Regions from separate parts of the Homo sapiens genome. Here all the other regions are linked to region 1. Evidence: promoter capture Hi-C in 16 types of primary human blood cells and fetal thymus (Javierre and others, 2016). All regions are on one chromosome and are shown on one strand. Each heading gives the region's core, a stretch centred on a gene start or on the middle of the fragment in contact. The rest is flanking DNA. Distances are from core to core; before and after follow the strand shown.

Region 1 (4,803 bases), core at 1,791-4,290:
CTAAGGTTCCCCTGGCCCGAAAACTGTCCAATTTTGATGTTATAAAATAAAAAAAATAGGAAAAGTAAACATGAAGCTGTTGGCTCAGGCACACACAGTGATTTCTGTAAACTTAGAGCTCAGCTGCAAATTCAATGGATGTGCAAATGTTCCCACAGGGTCTGGCAGAATTCTCATTTTCTTTTTCGTCTGAGAGACTTAACAATGAACTTTCTGGATGAAGAGGTAATGTTCCTCCCAGGTTTAGAGGACTGTGGATATATGTCTATAGGCCAGCTCTTAAAATCTCCAGAGCAGATTCTTCAAAACTGCAGCAATAGACGACTACACTAGGAACAGCAATACTAAAAATAAAGAAAATATTCTCAATGCTTGATTGACAGAATGTCTTCCTGTCAAGTTAAGGGGGAATCACAATTTCCAAACACCTCTGAGAAGACACTTTGAATAGCAGTCACACATCTGCAGTCACACATCTGCAATACAAACTACAGATCAACGCCAAACACGTTATAAGGTACTTAGCACTTCTCTGATGCATCAGAGATTAAGAATGTTTTTTCCCTTTTTCCTACCAAGTAAATTAAAATCCACCAACACCCTTCAGCTCCTCTCAGAAAAGAAAATGATGTTGGGGGGGAAAAAAGTGTTGTTAGTTTAGAAAAAGAAAAAAGTACAGCTATAGAATCTCAGAGAAAGTAACACACAAATATATCCAAAGGGATTCACTTGAAGCCAGCTGTTTTTAATAACCAGTTTCCTCTTTCTTGCCCACATACTGAGAGGACAGACAGCTTCAACAAGAGAATGAGCATGTATCCCCGCCACAGTATTGACTAACAGCTGATTTTCCCACACAAGACTAGGCCTTAGACTGGGATACAGAAAACCTAATGCCCAAGTTCAGCCTCTGGCATCAGGCCAGAAATAGGAGCCTCCAGGTGCATAAAGCACTAAAACCAAAATGCAATGGGCTGACCTAGTACGTCTTGATTTCAGGAAGGAGACCTTCAAAAAAGAAATAGGGCAGGCCGGGTGCAGTGGCTCACGCCTGTAATCCCAGCACTTTGGGAGGCAGAGGCGGCGGGATCACTTGAGGTCAGGAGTTCGAGACCAGCCTGACCAACATAGTGAAACCCCATCTTTACTAAAAATACAAAAATTGGCCAGACAAGCCAGGCATGGTGGCTCACGCCTGTAATCTCAGCATTTTGGGAAGCTGAGGCAGGTGGATCGCTTGAGGAGTTCTCCTTGGTCTTGAGGAGTTCAAGACCAGCCTGGCCAACACAGTGAATCCAGAGTTTGAGACCAGCCTGGCCAACATAGTGAAACCCCGTCTCTACTAAAATGCAAAAAACTAGCTGGGTGTTGTGGCGGGCGCCTGTAATCCCAGCTACTCGGGAGGCTGAGGCAGGAGAATCGCTTGAACCGGGGAGGCGGAAGTTGCAGTGGACAGAGATCGCGCCATTGCACTCCAGCCTGGGCAACAAGGGCTGGAGTGCACTCTAAAAACAAACAAACAAACAAACAAAATTAGCCAGGTGGCCTGCACCTGTAATCCCAGCTACGAGGCGGGAGAATCGCTTGAACCCGGGAGGTGGAGGTTGCAGTGAGCCGAAATCGCACCACTGCACGTCAGCATGGACGACAAAGCAAAACTCCGTCTCAAAAAAAAAAAAAAAAAAAAAAAAAGAAAGAAAGAAATAGGGCAAATAGTGCAAGCAACAGAGAAAGCTGGCTGGTCTGAGCTTCGGGCATCACACTTACATACACGCACAGACTAATACTCAAACAGGCTTGACACACACATGTCCAGGCTTACACACATGGCTGTCACGTGGTCACACCCCGTTCTGCCTCAACCTTGACCCAGTCTTGAAACAGAAATAAAGGGAGCAACTACTGAGCATCCTGGGGGTGGGAAGGGCGGAAGCCCATCTTTTCACCCCTAGGACGGCTGGGCTGGGAAGCTAAGGGCGCTCAGTCGTGCCCACGCAGCCTTGCCAGGGGCAGGAGCTCCATTTCCCCTGGTCTGCAAAATGGAAGGGCTGGACTGCACCGCCCTGTCAGTGTCGGTCTCTGGTTTCATGGGTCCCTGTGGTTCCACAGGGTCACACTCCGCATCCGACCCCTTGGAGAACTCCCAACCCGAGAGGGAGGGTGATGGAAATGCCCTGAGCATCAGGACCCGCGCCGAGGCAGCCTGAGGGGAAGCGCCGGCCTGCCTCGTCTCACTTCGCCTCTGTAAAGCGGCCCCTGGGCTTCCCTCCAAAACTCCTTTCCTCCAGGGTCTCCGTTCCTCCCCGCGACGCTAGGCGCTGCGCTTCGTTTCACAGACTCACTTCCCACGCCAGGGCGAGGGCGGTCACAGACAAACCCGAGCTGGGGTCCCAGACTCAAGGGAAGTGCGGCCCAGCTGCCCCGGCGCCCCCTCCCGGGTCAGGCCGGCTCGGGCCCGGCCGGCTTGGGCCCTGCGGTCCCAGACGCCGCTCCCCAGGCCACCCCTCCTCCCGCACAACCCAGAACACGCGGGTCACGGCCGCCAGGCTGCGCCCGCTCTGCTCGCGCCTCAGCGGCGCGGAGGCCCGGACGGCGCCATGACATGAGCAGTGGTGGCGACCCACGCGCACCCGCCGCTCCGAGTGCTGCAGCCTAGCGCCCAGCGAGAGCGCGCCGCGCACCTGCCGGCTCTGCCGGCCTCCCGGCGCCCGCCCAGCCTCTCAGCGCGAAGGCCCAGCCCGGCCCACGGCGCCCGCCCGGCCCGGCCGCGCGCCTCACCAGCGGTAGCAGCCCTCCGAGGCCTCCAGCGTGAAGTTAACGCGCGTGGCCCGCGTGAAGGGCAGCAGCACTTTGGGGATGTTGAGCTTGGCCGCAGCGGCGGAGGGGCCCGCCGCCAACAGCACCGACAGCGTCAGCAGCAGCAGCCCCCGGCCCCGCGCCGCCATCCTCGCCGCGCGTCACCTCCCGCGACCCTGCGCCCGGCCGCCCGCGCCGCCCCGTTGCCCTCCGCTCCCGCCCGCGCGCGCGCCAGGCCAGCAGGTGATGAGCGCGGGGGCGGGGCGAGGGCCGTCGGCGGCCGCCGCTTCCTGGGCCTGAGCGCGGGAACTCTGGGGGCCGAGCTCGCGGCGACCCCACCCCCAGCCCGGCCCTCGCGCAGGGACGCGGGGCTGGGGGATGGGCGCGCGCCCGGGCCCCCGGAGCTGAGGGAGAAGGCTTGGGGCGCGCCCGCGGGGACCCCTGGACCCTAGAAGTCCCAAGGGGGAGCCCCCGGGGCGCCCCGCAGCACGCATCCCGCCCTGGTATTTGCCCCTGGCGGTGGAGCCAAGCCGCCGGCTTTGGACCTTGCGCTCTGGCCCGGACCCACGGTCAGCAAGGAAGGGACACATGCCCCAGGACATTTGGGATGCAGAAAACCGGCGCCTGCCTTGTCCCAGCCCATGCTTCCCAGAAGAGGGACCCCGGGCTCGCAAAGGGAAGCCACCTGCTGAAGCGCTGAAGGCCCGGGGCCCGCTCCCCCTCGACCCCCTCACACCCTTTCCAGAGAGGCCTTAAGATTCCCATTTCTCCAGGAAAAAACCGGTTGAATGGCCCCCAGATCACTCAGCCAGAGAGCCCCAAGCTCTTGTCCTCCGCACTGCACCCCCTGCGGAAGCCATTAGAGGTTACCTATAGGTCATTTAGGGCGCCAACGCTGCCAGAGCACAACCCCCTCCACGGCCCCCACACCCACAAAAGAAAGTTTAGCACCGCGGAATCCACCTGCACACCAATGGAAGGCCTTAGATTCCGCGCTGTGCTCTGTGGCTTTTAGCTGTCTGTCGTGAATTGCATGAAGGCATGCGTCAGCAGGCACCTGACTGCTTGGTGCCGCTAAAATATGAATCTAGCCTTGCAGAGAAGGCCCAGCCTAGCGGGAGGTCAGGAAAGGGTGGGGTGAGGGTGCACTGGCCGGCTGTCTGAGGAGTGCAGGAAGTGGATGCTGACTGTAACCAGGAAGACACACAACGATGCCACTGGGTGACCAGGAAGGAGAGGATAAATGTCAGTAAGGCTAGGAAGGCTTTTTGGAGGCGGCGGCCCCTGGGTTGGGCATAGACACCGCACTGGGCTTCAGCGAGGCCCGCATAGGCTGAGCCTGCCCCTCAGGGATCATGGGGCTTTTGGATGGTGATGCGGGGTGTTTGGGGTCACCCTCGAAGCCTGAGGGCCCTAGACCAGGGAATGTGTGTGTTGGGGGAAATCTCTGGAGATAACCAGAACTAAGGGGGTGAGGGTCGGCCCTGTGTGGAACCAGGTGCTCTGGGAGGGGAATTCCAACGGGCTCCCTTTGAAGAAACAAAAAACAGACTTGCGCGGAAAAGGCAGCCTCAGAGGGTATTTGTGAGGAAGTCTGTGGGTGTCTTCTGGGTTGCACAAGATTGATTTGTTTTCCAACAGGTAATCCAGACAGATGGTTGAAACTTAGGCTCAAAAGGGTTCCAAGTGAAAGTGATTCCTCTCCCTCCCCATCACCCAATACCCTTCCCTACAGGCAATGAGTGTTTCCCACTTGAGTATACATCCAGAGAAATTTTATGCATAAACAAGCATATATATATATAAAACATGGCACACATGCACACACATACACATACATGCACACACATATGTATATATGAAATATGGCACATATACATACATATACATATGTCTTGCGAGGCAGGTAAATCTCACTCTTGGACATATATCCTAGAGAAATGAAAAGTGATGTTCCCACAATCACCTGTACATAAAACATTCATAGCAGCTTTATCAAATAGGCCC
Region 2 (4,755 bases), core at 361-2,860, 450 kb before region 1:
CGCGCAGGGGCGGGGCCGAGCCGAGGCGCGGGGTGCAGAGCGCAAGGGCGGAGTCCCAGACACTGCATCCAGGTCCCAGCGCGCGAAGCCTCTGTTCTGGAAGGAGGACTTTGCGCAGCCCCTCCAACACTGGCGCCTCCCGGGAGCCATGTCTTCCTCTCCAGCGTGTAACCACAACAAATGCACAGCGCCAAACCCCCAACCAGAGCCTACTCCGCTGATGCCTACTCAACATCTGCCTATCCCGATTTTGCCTTCAGTTTATAAAACCTGGCCTTTGCCTGCCTGGACCGAACCGTGTGGTTCTGGGGCTCTGATGCGCCCCAGAGAAGGGAATGGGCCCTATCCTGAGGTTGGTACCACCCTTTTGGCGGCTTTTTGGGGGAAGATCTAATGGAAAGTTGCTTCTTTCTCCCTAAGCCCACCCAGCCCCCTACCCTTTCTCCACCCAGAGACACCCTTCAAGCACCTATGACAAGCTTAAAGTAATACTAATTAGCACTTTAGAGTTCTTTAGTGATAGTTGGCCTTCAAGGCAACATTGTGAAGTAGGTGGAGTTACCCCTGGCCTCATTTTACCAATGAGTAAACTGAGGCTCAGCTTAACTGGGCCAACTAAGAGACGGCTTCCCTCACTCTTTCCTCCTCTCCCAGGCTCTTCCTACTATGAGCGCTCATGGCTTGCAGTCCTCCATTTGTATGTTTACTTGTTTATTATCTGTCCTTGGGCTCCATGAAGGCAGATACAGTGCCCAGCGCCCACACCTGTGGAATGCCTAGACGTGGTTGGGAGACAGCAAGCAGATATGGAACAATCAAAACCCCACCTGTCCTGGGCCACCCACCTACAAGTCCATCTCCTGGAGGGCCAGGCAGCTGGCAGGCCTACGGGAGTCAGGAAGCTGCAAGAAGCCATCAAGGCAGGGGCATTGTCTTGTGCCCTTCTGAATCTTTCATTTGGAGGGGGACAGTGAAGGAAGGGGGCTGAGGTGGCCCAGCTTGCAGCAGAGGAGGGCAGCCCCTAAAGCCAGTTTAGAGCACCTGGGTTCCCAGGCAAGAAGCTGAGCAGGAGCCCAGTGCCCCTTATGCCAGTTTAGAGCACCTGGGTTCCGAGGCAAGAGGCTGAGCAGGAACCCAGTGCCCCTTCACTGCCCATCTCCACATTCCTCTTCTCAGCTTCCCATGTTTTCTTTGCTCTGTTAAAAATAAATGAAGACACAGAATGGGGGGAAATATTTGCAAATCATGTATCTAGTAAGGGTCTAGTGTCCATAGTACATAAAGAACGCTCACAATTCAAAAATAATAAGGCAAATAACCCAATTTAAAAACAGGCAAGGTATCTGAGTAGATTTTTCTCCAAAGACAATCTACAAGTGGCCAATAAGCCCATGAAAAGATGCTCTCAACCTCACTAATCTTTAGGGAACTGTAAATCAAGACCGCAATACCACCTCACACTCACAAGGAAGGCCATAATAAAAAAGATGGACAAAAGTACCTATACATAGAGGGTTCTGGAAGGAGAAGAACACTAGGCTGCACTGCTCAAAGACCACAGCCACATCTGGCATCTGTCATGGTTAGGGTAGGGGTAGGAAGCTGGGAGAGGATAGGGTACACATGACCCAGTTGATGGCAGAGGCAGCAGAAAACTCCCACCCCTGTCTGAAGTGCTCTCTAAAAATAGACTGCAATAAATGGAGCCAAAATAATTCCCCCAGCCCAGCTGCTGGAGCACTCTGGGCACGGTCTTTGACAGCCTCACCATCCGGATTGTCCAAGAATTTCAGGCACTTCTCCAGGCCCAGGGCCCTGCCGCCCAGCAGGATGGTCTTGGCGACATTGTCTCGGCTGGGATTTAGAAGGGGATTGAATTTCGCTGTTAGCATTTGGAATACCAGATGATGGACACTCTGGAAACCAAATGCATCTTGATTCTCTTGTTTTATCTTTCTGCAAAGTGTGCCTCTTGCTCCTGCTCCGCTAACTGCCTTGCAGATTAATAATTTAGGGAACTGTGAGCAGAAGCAAGAAAAGTTCCAGCCTAGAGAGGCAGAGAAGGCCAATTTTTCTGCAGAAATGACCAGACTGGTCAGAATCCTTGCATGCACCATTCAGGCAAATTGCTTAGTTTTCTGAGTCTCAGTTTCTGCAACTGTAAAGAGTGGCTTAGCAGCCACCTCTACCCCAGCTAATTCACCTTGCTGTTTAATTTAATTTAGCAAGCATTAATTAGTACTTACTCTGAGGCCTCAGTGGGGAAACACTGCTGTGACAAGTATTCCCCAGTATGGTGTCGTGACAGTGGAGGAAAGAGCTTGTAATTCTGCCCCAGGAGAGGCTCTAATGGGGGGACATTTTGGGTTGGACCTTGAGGGATGAGGAGGGCCCCATGTATGGGGTCACAGGATGTAAAAAGTCATGGAGACGTTTAGTTCCACTGTATCACCCCATGTTTTAGTCCTGAGCTGCTTGCCTTGGCCCATTTCACATGCTACAACCCGACTTTATCTCTATCCTCCCCAGCTTCTGATAGCCTCCAGTCTTTCCACAGCCTCCCTGCTTTCCTCCAGCCAGATGTGTGGCACTCTCCCAAAGCCCAGCCTTTGCAGCCCCTCTCTCCAAGCTGTCAGGATCAAGCCCAGCCTCCCTGCACAGCCAGCCTCGTGGCCTGGTTCATCTCTCCATCCCTTACCTCTCCTCCTGCCCACTCTATGCCTGCCACACCTCCAGCAACACTAAGCTTCTTTCAGTTCCCCACACTCCCCACTGTGCCTGGCTCACAGCTAGGACCTTGGTTTTCAGCTTCCTATGTCACTGCTCCCAGAAAGACACCCATGACCAGCGCCTAGTCCAAGTCAGAAACTCCTTTTACATGGCATCAGGTTACTCTGCACCTGCTTGCTTATACCAGTGAGCTGTATTCCAACTGCCAGGGCTGGTTCTATGTCCTTCCCTGCAGCAGCCCCTGTGCCGACAGTGGAGCCTGGTGCACAGAAGGTCTTCGACAGCTGAATACGCCAAAGGTTGGTAAACTATGGCCTGAGAGCCAAGTCCAGCCTGCTGCCTGTTTTTTTAAAATAAAGGTTTATTGGAACAGAGCCACGCTCATCCACTTATGTATTGTCAATGGCTTCTTCCATGCTATGATGATGAAGTTAAACAGTTACAACAGACACATGACCTGCAAAACATACAATATTAATGCGCACATGCAGCCCTTCTCTGAAATAAATGAAGCTCTCCTGAGGCAGTCTTACATTGGCTCCAACTACCCTGGCAAACCCCCTGCGTGTTCAGCCAGACACCCCATGCAAGAGCAGAATCCAAACATGGGGGAAGACAGTGACTGAAATGATAGGGCTGGGCCAGATGATCCTCAGATGAGATGGCCACAAGATGGGATGCACTGTTGGGAACGAATCCTACAGCGCCGCCTGCCCATGTGCACATAGAGGCATGCCCAAGGATATTAATTATTTGAAAAAGCAGAACTCGGGAGGAAACGTGCAATGCCTCTCAATGCAGACTGGTTAAGTAAATTGTATTACACCCATCAATGGAGTCCCATGTTAAAAAGATGGCAGCAGCATCTTGCATACTTATAGGAAAAGATCTGAGACACAACATTGTGATAGAAAGTCCAGAAAAATGTGAAGTGTATTTATAAAAGAATCTACAGAACACTAGTATGCTTATATAAGATTGTATAATCATAGATTACTTCTTAAAAGAGACCCAAGAGTGCCATTGCACTCCAGCCTGGGAGACAGAGCGAGACTCTGTACCCTCCTCCAACACCAAAAAAAATTTTTTAAACAAGTGTTTGTTACTTTTTAAAAACCCAGTTATGGGCCAGGTGTGGTGGCTCACCCAAAGTCAGGAGTTCGAGACCAGCCTGGCCAACATGGCGAAACCCCATCTCTACTAAAAATACAAAAATTAGCTGGGCGTGGTGGTGGGTGCCTGTAATCCCAGCTACTCAGGAGGCTGAGGCAGGAGAATCACTTGAACGCAGGAGGCAGAGGAGCCGAGATCGTGCCACTGCACTCCAGCCCTGGCAACAGGGTGAGACTCCATCTCAAAACAAACAAACAAACAAACAAACAAACAAAAACAAAAGGCCAGTTATGGATTGGACTGGAACCAATGCAATTTTTTTTTTTTTTTAATGTGCCAGTGAAGCCTGGGCAACATGTCAAAATCCCATCTCTACAAAAAAACAGAAAAAGTAGCTAGGCATGATGGCATGTGCCTGTAGTCGCAGCTACTCAGGAGGCTGAGGTGGGAGGATCACCCGAGTGTAGGAAGGTCAAGGCTGTGGTGAGCTGTTATTGTGCCACTGCACTCCTGCCTGGATGACAGACTGAGATCCTGTCACAAAAAAAAAAGCCAGTGAAATGAAGAAATCAAGGGACTGAAGGTCTTCTGACATCTTCTAGGAGGCTCTGAAGCCCACCAGAACTAGTCCACAAAGACCCCAAACGCTTGATGGTACTTAAGCCACCTCTTGGGCCACTCCAGGTTCCTCGTCTTTCAAGCAGGTTGTGTCTTACTGACAACCACAAAAATCGATAAGACTGGTGGTGTAGCACATTTTGAGCTTCTGCTCAGTGTCTGTTAACCACCACTATGTTACCATTCATCTTACGAAATGAGCATTCCCCCATCACAGCCAGAATGCTGGGTCTGCGAGGGAGCTCTGCGGCTGCCACTTAGCCCCAAATCCTCATTTTACAGACAGGGAAACTG
Region 3 (4,388 bases), core at 806-3,305, 470 kb after region 1:
CATCCTGTAGATGGGAAGGCACCCACATTGTCAGAGCAGGGCTGTTATCCAGTCCCATGTGGGTTTTCACCAGTGAGATCAGCCTCTATTATTTTGTGGCTATCCAGCATTCAACTCCTGTGACTGGCACCATGGTGTCTGCTTGGGGAGCCCCCCTCTGTGCGCCAGGCTGGTAGGAGGTTGTGCTGCCTCCGATGGAATCTCTTCTTCCTCCTTCTGCCTTGGAGCTGTTGGCCCCCAGGTCCTCTCTCCCAGGATTAGAGCAGGCAGGGCAAAAAGCTGGGGTCTGAAGACTACATTCCTACAGCTGGGGAGCAGCAGGAACACAGAGACCATCCATCTGCTCAAATAAGGAAACAGCCTCTCTCTTTGCACTGTGATAGCATGCACAATTTACTGAGGACCTAGTATGTGCCAGGCTGTCTGATGGATGCCTTATATTTCTTTGCTGCTGGCAGCACTTTTCCCAGATGGCTGTATGGTTCACCCATTACTTCATTCAAGCAGAATATCACCTCCCACATCGCTGCCCCATGGGGGTGACCCCTGAGTACCCTGCGCTTTCATGGCACTGTCTAGACCACCTCTTACTCTGGCTTTATTTATATGCCTAGAATGTATCAGCACCCCCCAACTTTACATTGTGTATTTGTTGACTTTTGTTTGTCTATCTTCCTCATTGCACTGTCTGCCCCACAAGTAGGAATATTTGTTACTTAACAGCTGCATTTCATAGAATGATGCCTGGAACATGGGCGGCCCTTGATGAATAATTGTTAGACACATGAATAATTGGATGATTCTCATGCACTCCTCATAAAAACCTCATTTTCCGGAAGAGAAAATTGAGATGTTGAGGGGTTAAGTTGCTTACCCAGCATCTAGCTGAGCGTCTAGCTGAGTGTCTGGCACTTATGTTAACACATGTCTCCATTCCCTTTTTGTCTTCTCCCACATCTCCTCACTCCTGCTAATAATAGGCTCCTTTGCACTGATTTCGCCTACATAGATTTCATCTCCATCCCAGCATTCCTAATACCCACTGCTATGCACGAGGTAGGCCTCACCCAGGCCAGTGATTCAGTGTTATCAAGGGGGCAGGAGTTGGGGGCAGAATGGGTAGGACCAGAGCATCCTGACTGGGAGGAGCTGGAACATGGGCCTTGGGGCTGGAAAATTGATGTCTCCCTCCCCCTGCTGCCAAAGTCCTATTGACTCCCTTGCTGAACCATCAATCTGTTTGTGAATCTGGGGGCCAAGATTGTGGAAGAGGCTGCAAAGAGACAATCCATCCTACAGGTGGGGAGACTGAGCCCCATTGCAGGCCCGAGAGGCTCCAAAGGCACATAGCCAGCTAGGGGCAGAGTTGGATATGAAATACTGCTAGGGCACTGGGGCAACACACCCAGCTTTGAGTCTCGGCTCAGCCTCTTGCTGTGTGACCTTAGGAAAATGGTGAACCTCCCTTAGCCTATTTCCGTATCTGTATGGAGATGATGATAATAATAATGCCATCTCATAGGTTACAGCAATCATATATATAACACATTCACATTTCACAGAGCAACTGGCACATAGCATGCACTCAACACATGATAGTTATTTGATGATGATGATTATGGCGATAAAGATGTGTATTGGAATCCAGCCCTCTAGGATCAGAGGAATCTTAAAGATGATCAGGGCCACTGTTTCTCAAACTACTATGTGCATCCAAATTACTTAGGTATGAAACAGATGCCCAGGTCCCCCTCAAGACCTCCCAAGTTGGACTTCCTGGCAGAGGTGGAGGGAAGTCTATCCCATCTCCACTGAGTAGTGGCCAACTGTGCTCAAACCTCTCTCAGGGAGAGCGGCTCACTCATCCCAGGGGAGCCCCTTGCATTTGGATACAATGGTGACTGGGACACTTCTTCCTCATACCAGTGAGAAATCAGCTGATAGAGGTTAGAGGGATCAGAGAAGGGAACAGTGGGTCCCCACTGTTCTGTGGCCCTTGATTTCTCCAGCTCAGAAATGGAGTAAGGCATGCCAGCTCTAAGTCTCTGTCTCTTCAAAAGGGATCTATGGACTCCCAGGTTTCCAGAGAGGAATGCTCAGGGCTCCAAGAATGAGAATTTCAAATGGTCTTTTTTTTTTTTTCATTTTAACATGAATCTAACATCCTCATATTTCAAACTATTAGGATGACCTCATTATAACTGATAACTGTCCTCTAATTAACTTTGCTGTTTGAGTTTGCATTTTTGCTTATGGTCATAAGGTTCCCAGGAAAACCACTTTTGTGATTTGGAGCCCAGGAGAAGAAAGCAGTAATTCACTGAAGCCCCTGCCCTGTGTGAAGAAAGGGTTAGGAGGAGGTGGGCTAGAGGAAAGGGGTTGGGAGGTTTGATTCATCTCATGACAGAGGGTGATAGATGGTGCCAAATTTAATGGGCCCTACATGGTGACAATTGACACCATGATCAGGCTACAAGCTGCCACTTGGCTTCAGCAAAGTAACATTCTCTGGCATATGTCAATTATCATTCATTTAAAAGTTAGATTTTCTGGTGTTTATGTTAGTTTATATTTCATCTGGAACTTGCAGATTTTAATAGCATAAGAGCCTACGCTTAGTTTTATGATAGTACATATCTAAGCAATGGTGTACTAAAAATTAGTTAAACCACCATTGAGTGTGTTTATTGGCCAGGGGGAGTAGTGTACAAGTTTCCCCTTTCAAGGAGCCCACATATCCCTCCAGCTTGAGAAACAAATCCCTGTTGATTTTGAAGGACCTCTGCATTCTCATGGTTTGTGAGCCCATGGATGGATCATCAGGTGGATGGGATTGTTTTAATTGAATTTGAGGTAAAGACCATTGTGAGGCCATTTTATACCAAATACCACCCGGTGAATATGTGTGTGTGTGTGTGTGTGTGTGTGTGTGTGTGTGTGTGTGTGTGTGTGTGTACTTTATGTTCTGCTGGCACCAGAATCCCCTGCAGGAGGGCTTGTTAATGCTCAGAGGGATGCCCACTGCCCAGGTTCACATTCAGTCCATCTGGGACTGAATGAAATGCACCCCAAAATGTGCATTTCTAACAAGTTCCCAGGTGATGCTGATGGCCACCCTTAGAGATCCAGAAGATCATCATCTGTGGGCTGGGAGGCAGGACTCAGGTCCACTGGCCTCTGTCCAGCCTGCTCTGGAATCCTGGGTAAGCCCCTTGTTCTGGGTGAGCCTCTGGACTCCCTACTTCCCATTCCTGCAATAAGAAGCTGGGACAAGTCTAGTGCCTCATCCAGGAGCAAGCATAAGCTCTGACACCTGGTTTGCCATTCGGAGTCTAAAGCCTGGTGTCTTATCAGTGAAGTTTCATGTCCACCCAGGAAGCCCCTGGAGCAGGAGGGCAGTGGCAGTCTTAGCTCCCTGCTTTGGGGAGACAAGCTGCGGAAACAGAAAGGCACACTCCCACTCCAAATCCCATCTCTGGCCCTGTGACCTTGTGCAAGTGACTGGTCTCCAGGGCTTCCCCTCATGTTGTAGGGTCACTGAGAAGTCCCTTCTGGAAAGCACCTGGATCTGGTGGGCCCTCTCAGACTCATCTGTGCGCTCCCAGCCACACTTTGCCTCACCGGCCGCTGGCCATCTGCCCGTGGGCTCCTGGTCACCTCGGGAGGAGAGCACTTATCACCATTCCACCCCCAAGGTCTTCCTCAGGATAATCTCCGGCCCGGGTGATTCATCTCATGGGCTGGGCCCTTCCTCTCGGGCCTGAAATATCTCCCTCCCCTCACCATTCCTGGGTCATGCCTGTGCCCCCAGCCATGTGACTTCCTCTGGGGACTGGCCCTGGGCCCCTGCCCTCCTGCCACCCCTCCACTCTCTAGCTAGCGACCCATTCTGGGCCTGCCATATCAGGCAGGGCTCAGCTGGGAGGGAGGAAGCCCACAGCTTGTTGTGCTGGGGAAAAAGTGCATCCCCACGTCCGGCCCCCACCCTGGCCCAGCCACACCTCTGCCTTTAGTGGGCTGGGCTTCCGGCACACATCCTGGCATGTCCTGGCCTGTTTATCACTTAGTTGCCACCTGGCGCTCTGCCCCTCATGCACACACATTCCCTGGGAGGCTTCTGGGGCTGGAGCAGAGTGGTTGGCCAGTATATCCCCCAGCTTTAGGGAGGCTGCCTTTCTCTGGAGCTAAGGATGGCTTTTTGGAGAAGACAGATCTGATCATATATCCCAGTTTCACTGTGGAATTACTGTGTGACTTTAGGCAAGTGAGTCTGCATCTCTGGGTCTTAGTTTCTCTGATTTTTAAATAGAAAGATAAATACCTTCATCTCCAGTTGTTGTGTGGATTAAATAAGATAATTACAAACAGACTGATGCTTGAACCCTACC
Region 4 (4,330 bases), core at 1,785-4,284, 390 kb before region 1:
TATAAGACTTAACCTCTCAACATCACTGTCTGCAGGACAGCATGGCCAGTTCTTGAAGTGAGAGTTCATAATGGTTTCTGAAACAGAGAGTGCACTCAGTAAATACCAGCTGTCACCTAAAAAGCCCCTGGCACTGCCGGGCACGTGTTAGGTGCTCAGTGCTAGTTGCCCTGTAGGACACAAGGAGCCCCAGAAAGAGTGGGGGAAGCGAGGGCAGGTCTGCGTGGAAGCCTTCACCCCCTCAGCCATTCCATCTCCCCAGCCACAAGGCCAAAGCCGGGCTCTGCAGAGAACTGGCTCGCCCTCCAACCTCAGTCCAGTGACTCACACAGCCCGCTGGGGATGAAGTCACTGCCGCCCAGGCAAAGGGAAGGACACATTTGTTCCCTGGGAGATGCTGATGCCATTGTGAACTTGGCCTTTGAGGGCAGGGCACAGCTCAGGGACTGTGTGCACTTGAGGAAGGCAGCAGGCACAGTGGAGGGACAGTGTTGAAGGGGACCCTGCTTGGGGAAATGAGGACTGGAAGGGGTGCCCCCTACTCTGGAAGCTTAGTGAGGGTCAGTGAGCCTCTGTCTGGCCTCTAGGCCTTGCTGAATGTGTGCCCTCTCCTCGCCTGTTGAGATGTGTCTGCCTGTGGTCTTAGGGCCTTGAGACCCTCTAATTTCTGCCTCTGGCTTAAGGGGCAAGCCACTGTTCCACATCTCTCATCCACAAAATGGGCACACTATACTCGACTCCCGCCTGGGGAACTGCAGGTGACAGTATGAGACCTCTCCTTACTCACTGGGGGTCCGTGCAGCCTCTCCTATTCCACCCACTCTCCCATGCTGACCGTCACCCACAGGAGACCAGGGTGGGGTGGGCAAGGCCCTTTGCCATCTTCTCTCTGCATTGAGCTTCCTGACACCCCCAAGTGGCCCCCACTCCATCACAACACCCCTGAGCCCTCCCAGATCTCCAGGCCTGTCCACCCTGGGCCAGGAATTCTGCACATATTGCCCAGTTATTCTCCACATGCCCCAGTCTGCTCTGGGCCCGGGACTGCAGCTCCCAGGCTCCCACTGCCTCCTGGTTCCTGACGGGGTGGCCAGCAGCGGCCCTGGCAGGAGGTCAGGAGGTGGAGGAGAGAATGATAGGTCAGGGTACTCGTTGCCTCAGCTCTGTCCTCGCTTCCTGTGCCCCTCGGCAGCCACAGTCCTGATGGGTGGCTGTTTGCACCCAGGTCTCTCTCTTTCTGGTTCATGAAACTGTTCTCTCCCCCAACCCTCTGGCCCAGGGCTGGTTAGGGTTCCCCCCTTCTGCCAGCCCAGGTGTCCAGTTCCCTTAACCCCATCCCACCCTGCACACAGCCCCATCACGGGCCACACTGCAAGGGAGCTTGTGTAGTGACCCATGTTTCCTACCAGGACCCAATGCTCAAGGCTCAAACTCAGACGACACCTCCTCTAGGAAGCCAATTTTCCATTGGCTTGTTCCTTCACCCAGTCAACATTCATTAATTGGCTTACTCTGTGCCAGATATCACTTGAGGATTTGGTGAACAAAACTGTGGAGCCTGGTGGGGCTGGCCTTCCTTCTGTACCAAGGGAGCAAATGAAAACGATTTCCCACAGTGGGCTGTGCCATGAAGAAGGCGTATAAACTAGATCATTTCTCTGGATGATACACTTCCCTTCTCCAGGAGTCCATCCTTTTTTGCCCTGCATCCTCTCCGTTCCCTGAGCCTGGACTGCAGCCATTTCTTCCCTGCACTTGGATGACCTGTCTCTGCATCCCTCCCTCACTGCTCTGAGAGCTCACATGAGCAGGTGAGGAGATCTATGTAGCTTAGTTCTTTGCACAATCACCCTATGAAGTAGCAGTTATTATCTCCCCAGTTTTTTTTTTTTTTGTTTGTTTTTTTTTTTACCAATTAATAAACTGAGGTTCAGATGCTGAGGTTAGTTACTCAGGATGATATATAAACCCAGCTCTGCCTATCTGACTCTAAAGCTAAAGCTCTGGAGGCTGAAAACAAAATAAATCACTTGTCATTTATATCTGCAGTCTTCCAATGGTGCCCAGAGCCATGCAAGGCGCAGGAAGGCACATACACCGAGTTGGCCGAACTTCAAAACCCTGGATCCCCCTTCTCAAGAAGCATTGGCCTTTTGAGGATGGGTGCTGGAATGCCCGTTTTCCAAATGGAAAAATGAAAGTCCAGGGTGCTGAGAGCGTTGGGTCTTGGAGGACAGTAGTGGGCTCCCAGCCTCCCAGGCAGCTGGCATCCTGAGTTCCACCATCTTGTCTCGGGCCTAGGATGGCCACTAATATCCAGTGCGCAGGCAGGGGCTGGGCACTCACTTCAGGGCAGGAGCTGGGAAAGAAGGCAGAGAAGAGCTTCCGCAAGTCCATCTTATGGAGCACAAAGGGCCAGCGTCCAAGTTGCCAGACTTGGCCTGCAGGGCCTCACTTTACTTGCTGTGCAGAAAAGAGACCGCAAGGGGGCAATGGCCAGGCAGGGGCCAGGGAGGAACTGTTGCTTGGACTGGGGTGGTGGACAGGAAGGTGAGGACAAGAGGTTGGATTCTAGAGACATTCTCAAAGTGGAACTGGTAGAAATGTCTGATCAATAAGATGAGGAGGTGAGAGAGAAAAGAGGAGTGGAAGATGATGCCTGGGTTGCTGGCCTGAACAACTGGAAAAATGGAGGTTCCATCCACGGTGACAGGGACACAGGGATGGCCAGTGGGAGCAGGTTTGGAGGGATGATGAGGCAAGGCAGAACGGGGGGACTCCGACTGGTCAAACAGAACAACTGTGGCTTGGCTCTGGCTGATGGCTGCTCTGTAGGAATAAGGGCTCTGATTTTTCAGATATCAGAAATCCAGGTTTTTACGTAACAGCTCTTGATTTTTATATGTTTGCAATAAATTCAAATTTACAATGATATGTAGGTTAATCCTATGCAAGCCAAATAAAATACATCTGTGAGTGTCTAGCCCACAGGATACCTCTTGTATCCTCCGCTCCTTCTTGTCTTTCAAGGTCCACTTAGCTGCCTCCTCCCCCAGGAAGCTGCCCATGATTGCTTCAGCTCCAGAGACGCCTGTGGCCCCTCAAAGCCCCGCAGGGCTGATAATCCCAGACTGGAAGTGACAGGAGGACAAATAGGGGGTTTGCTTATCCATTTCTCACGCCTCAAGCATAGGGTTTGGCCCAGAGGGGGAGTTAATGAATGAATACCTGCCGAATGAATGAATGAACAAGTAGCTCACTTGATCCCTCTGCCCTTATTTTGCAAATAAAACTGAGTCCCAGATAAGGGACATGACCTGCCAGGGTGGGATCTGGGGCCAGGGACTGCTCACCGTCTGGCCTCTGTTTGTCAGCTGTCCCCCGAGGCTGGGCCAGGCTAGGCCGGCAGGAAGTATAAAGACAATTGCACAGTCTTATCGAGTTATGCCATGGGAGGGTAGAAACAGGATCCTGAGCAGCTCTTGAGCATCTGGGTAGAGGCTGTTTGGGGGATGTTTTTCCAAGAACTTGCTAAGGTGACCCCAACCGGGGTCAGGGCAGAGCCAGACCCTAGAACTGGGTGCCTCTGCAGGTGGCATGGTCATGGGACAGATGACACCCCAGATGGAAGGACTCACATTAGCAATCAGTCAAAGTGACAGCCAGTCCCCATGGGTTGTCCCTTCTGAGGGTTCTGACACGTTTCCTTTCAGCCATGGGGAGGGCAGATGGTACTGGGTTTGACCATCAGGGTTTGTGCTCAGATCTTCTATGCAAGGAAATCAGACAACATAGGCACCGGAGGCTCTGGCCTCATTCTTCAGTGTTGGAGATGGAGAATGGAGTCTCAGAGGTGGAGGCGACTTGCCCTGAGGTCACACAGTAAGGAAGCCGCAGATCTGGGACTCCGGATCAGAAGTCCTGATTCTGAGACCTGCGCTGGCCAAGGGATCCTCACAAGCCGTTCCTCACACCTTCTGGCCTACCTCAGTTTCTTCATCCACAACATGGGGAGAAAAATAGGATCTATCTCCAGGGGTTGTGAAGATGAAACAAATGGAAGGAGCTAACGCTGTGTGACTGTACTGTGTAAAGCTATATAGAAGATCACGAATATATAGCAACTGCCCTTCTAAGCCTCTAGCCTTGAAAGTTTCTGGCTATGGCCGTCTTTAAAACTTCCAGGGTGACACAGCTCTCCATCAACACAACAAGAACGGTGATACCTAAGGGCTACTGAATGGTTCCTGTAGCCACTGCTCTATGTGTGACTAATTCATTTAATGCTTAGGCTCATCCCATGAGGTAGGTGCTATTACTATCTGATCTA

What was found. The method cuts DNA at HindIII sites, captures the fragments that hold promoters and counts their contacts. A CHiCAGO score of 5 or more calls a contact.
Region 2: a contact is called between a fragment that was not itself captured here and the fragment with the promoter of NUP210 in region 1, in 2 of 17 cell types (total B cells and naive B cells). The highest score is 5.5, in total B cells.
Region 3: a contact is called between a fragment that was not itself captured here and the fragment with the promoter of NUP210 in region 1, in 2 of 17 cell types (non-activated CD4 T cells and activated CD4 T cells). The highest score is 7.5, in non-activated CD4 T cells.
Region 4: a contact is called between a fragment that was not itself captured here and the fragment with the promoter of NUP210 in region 1, in 1 of 17 cell types (total B cells). The highest score is 6.6, in total B cells.

Annotation. Positions count from the first base shown.
Region 1 is chr3:13,417,282-13,422,084 of GRCh38, forward strand. It overlaps NUP210 (nucleoporin 210), which reads right to left and starts at 3,041. Exons shown (of 40, transcript NM_024923.4): 1 at 2,779-3,041. The coding sequence starts at 2,945. RefSeq lists silencers at 2,256-2,825, 2,876-3,275. The HindIII fragment of the contact is 10,112 bases long and covers 1-4,803 here.
Region 2 is chr3:12,967,928-12,972,682 of GRCh38, forward strand. The region is part of intron 1 of IQSEC1 (IQ motif and Sec7 domain ArfGEF 1); the gene reads right to left. Among named protein-coding and RNA genes, the nearest start is that of LINC02022, 85 kb to the left of the region's middle. RefSeq lists a silencer at 1-106 and an enhancer at 257-336. The HindIII fragment of the contact is 2,267 bases long and covers 478-2,744 here.
Region 3 is chr3:13,886,931-13,891,318 of GRCh38, forward strand. No RefSeq gene overlaps it. Among named protein-coding and RNA genes, the nearest start is that of WNT7A, 9.1 kb to the left of the region's middle. The HindIII fragment of the contact is 4,745 bases long and covers 1-4,388 here.
Region 4 is chr3:13,024,985-13,029,314 of GRCh38, forward strand. The region is part of intron 1 of IQSEC1 (IQ motif and Sec7 domain ArfGEF 1); the gene reads right to left. Among named protein-coding and RNA genes, the nearest start is that of IQSEC1, 46 kb to the right of the region's middle. RefSeq lists a silencer at 85-214 and enhancers at 1,829-2,330, 2,331-2,830. The HindIII fragment of the contact is 4,973 bases long and covers 549-4,330 here.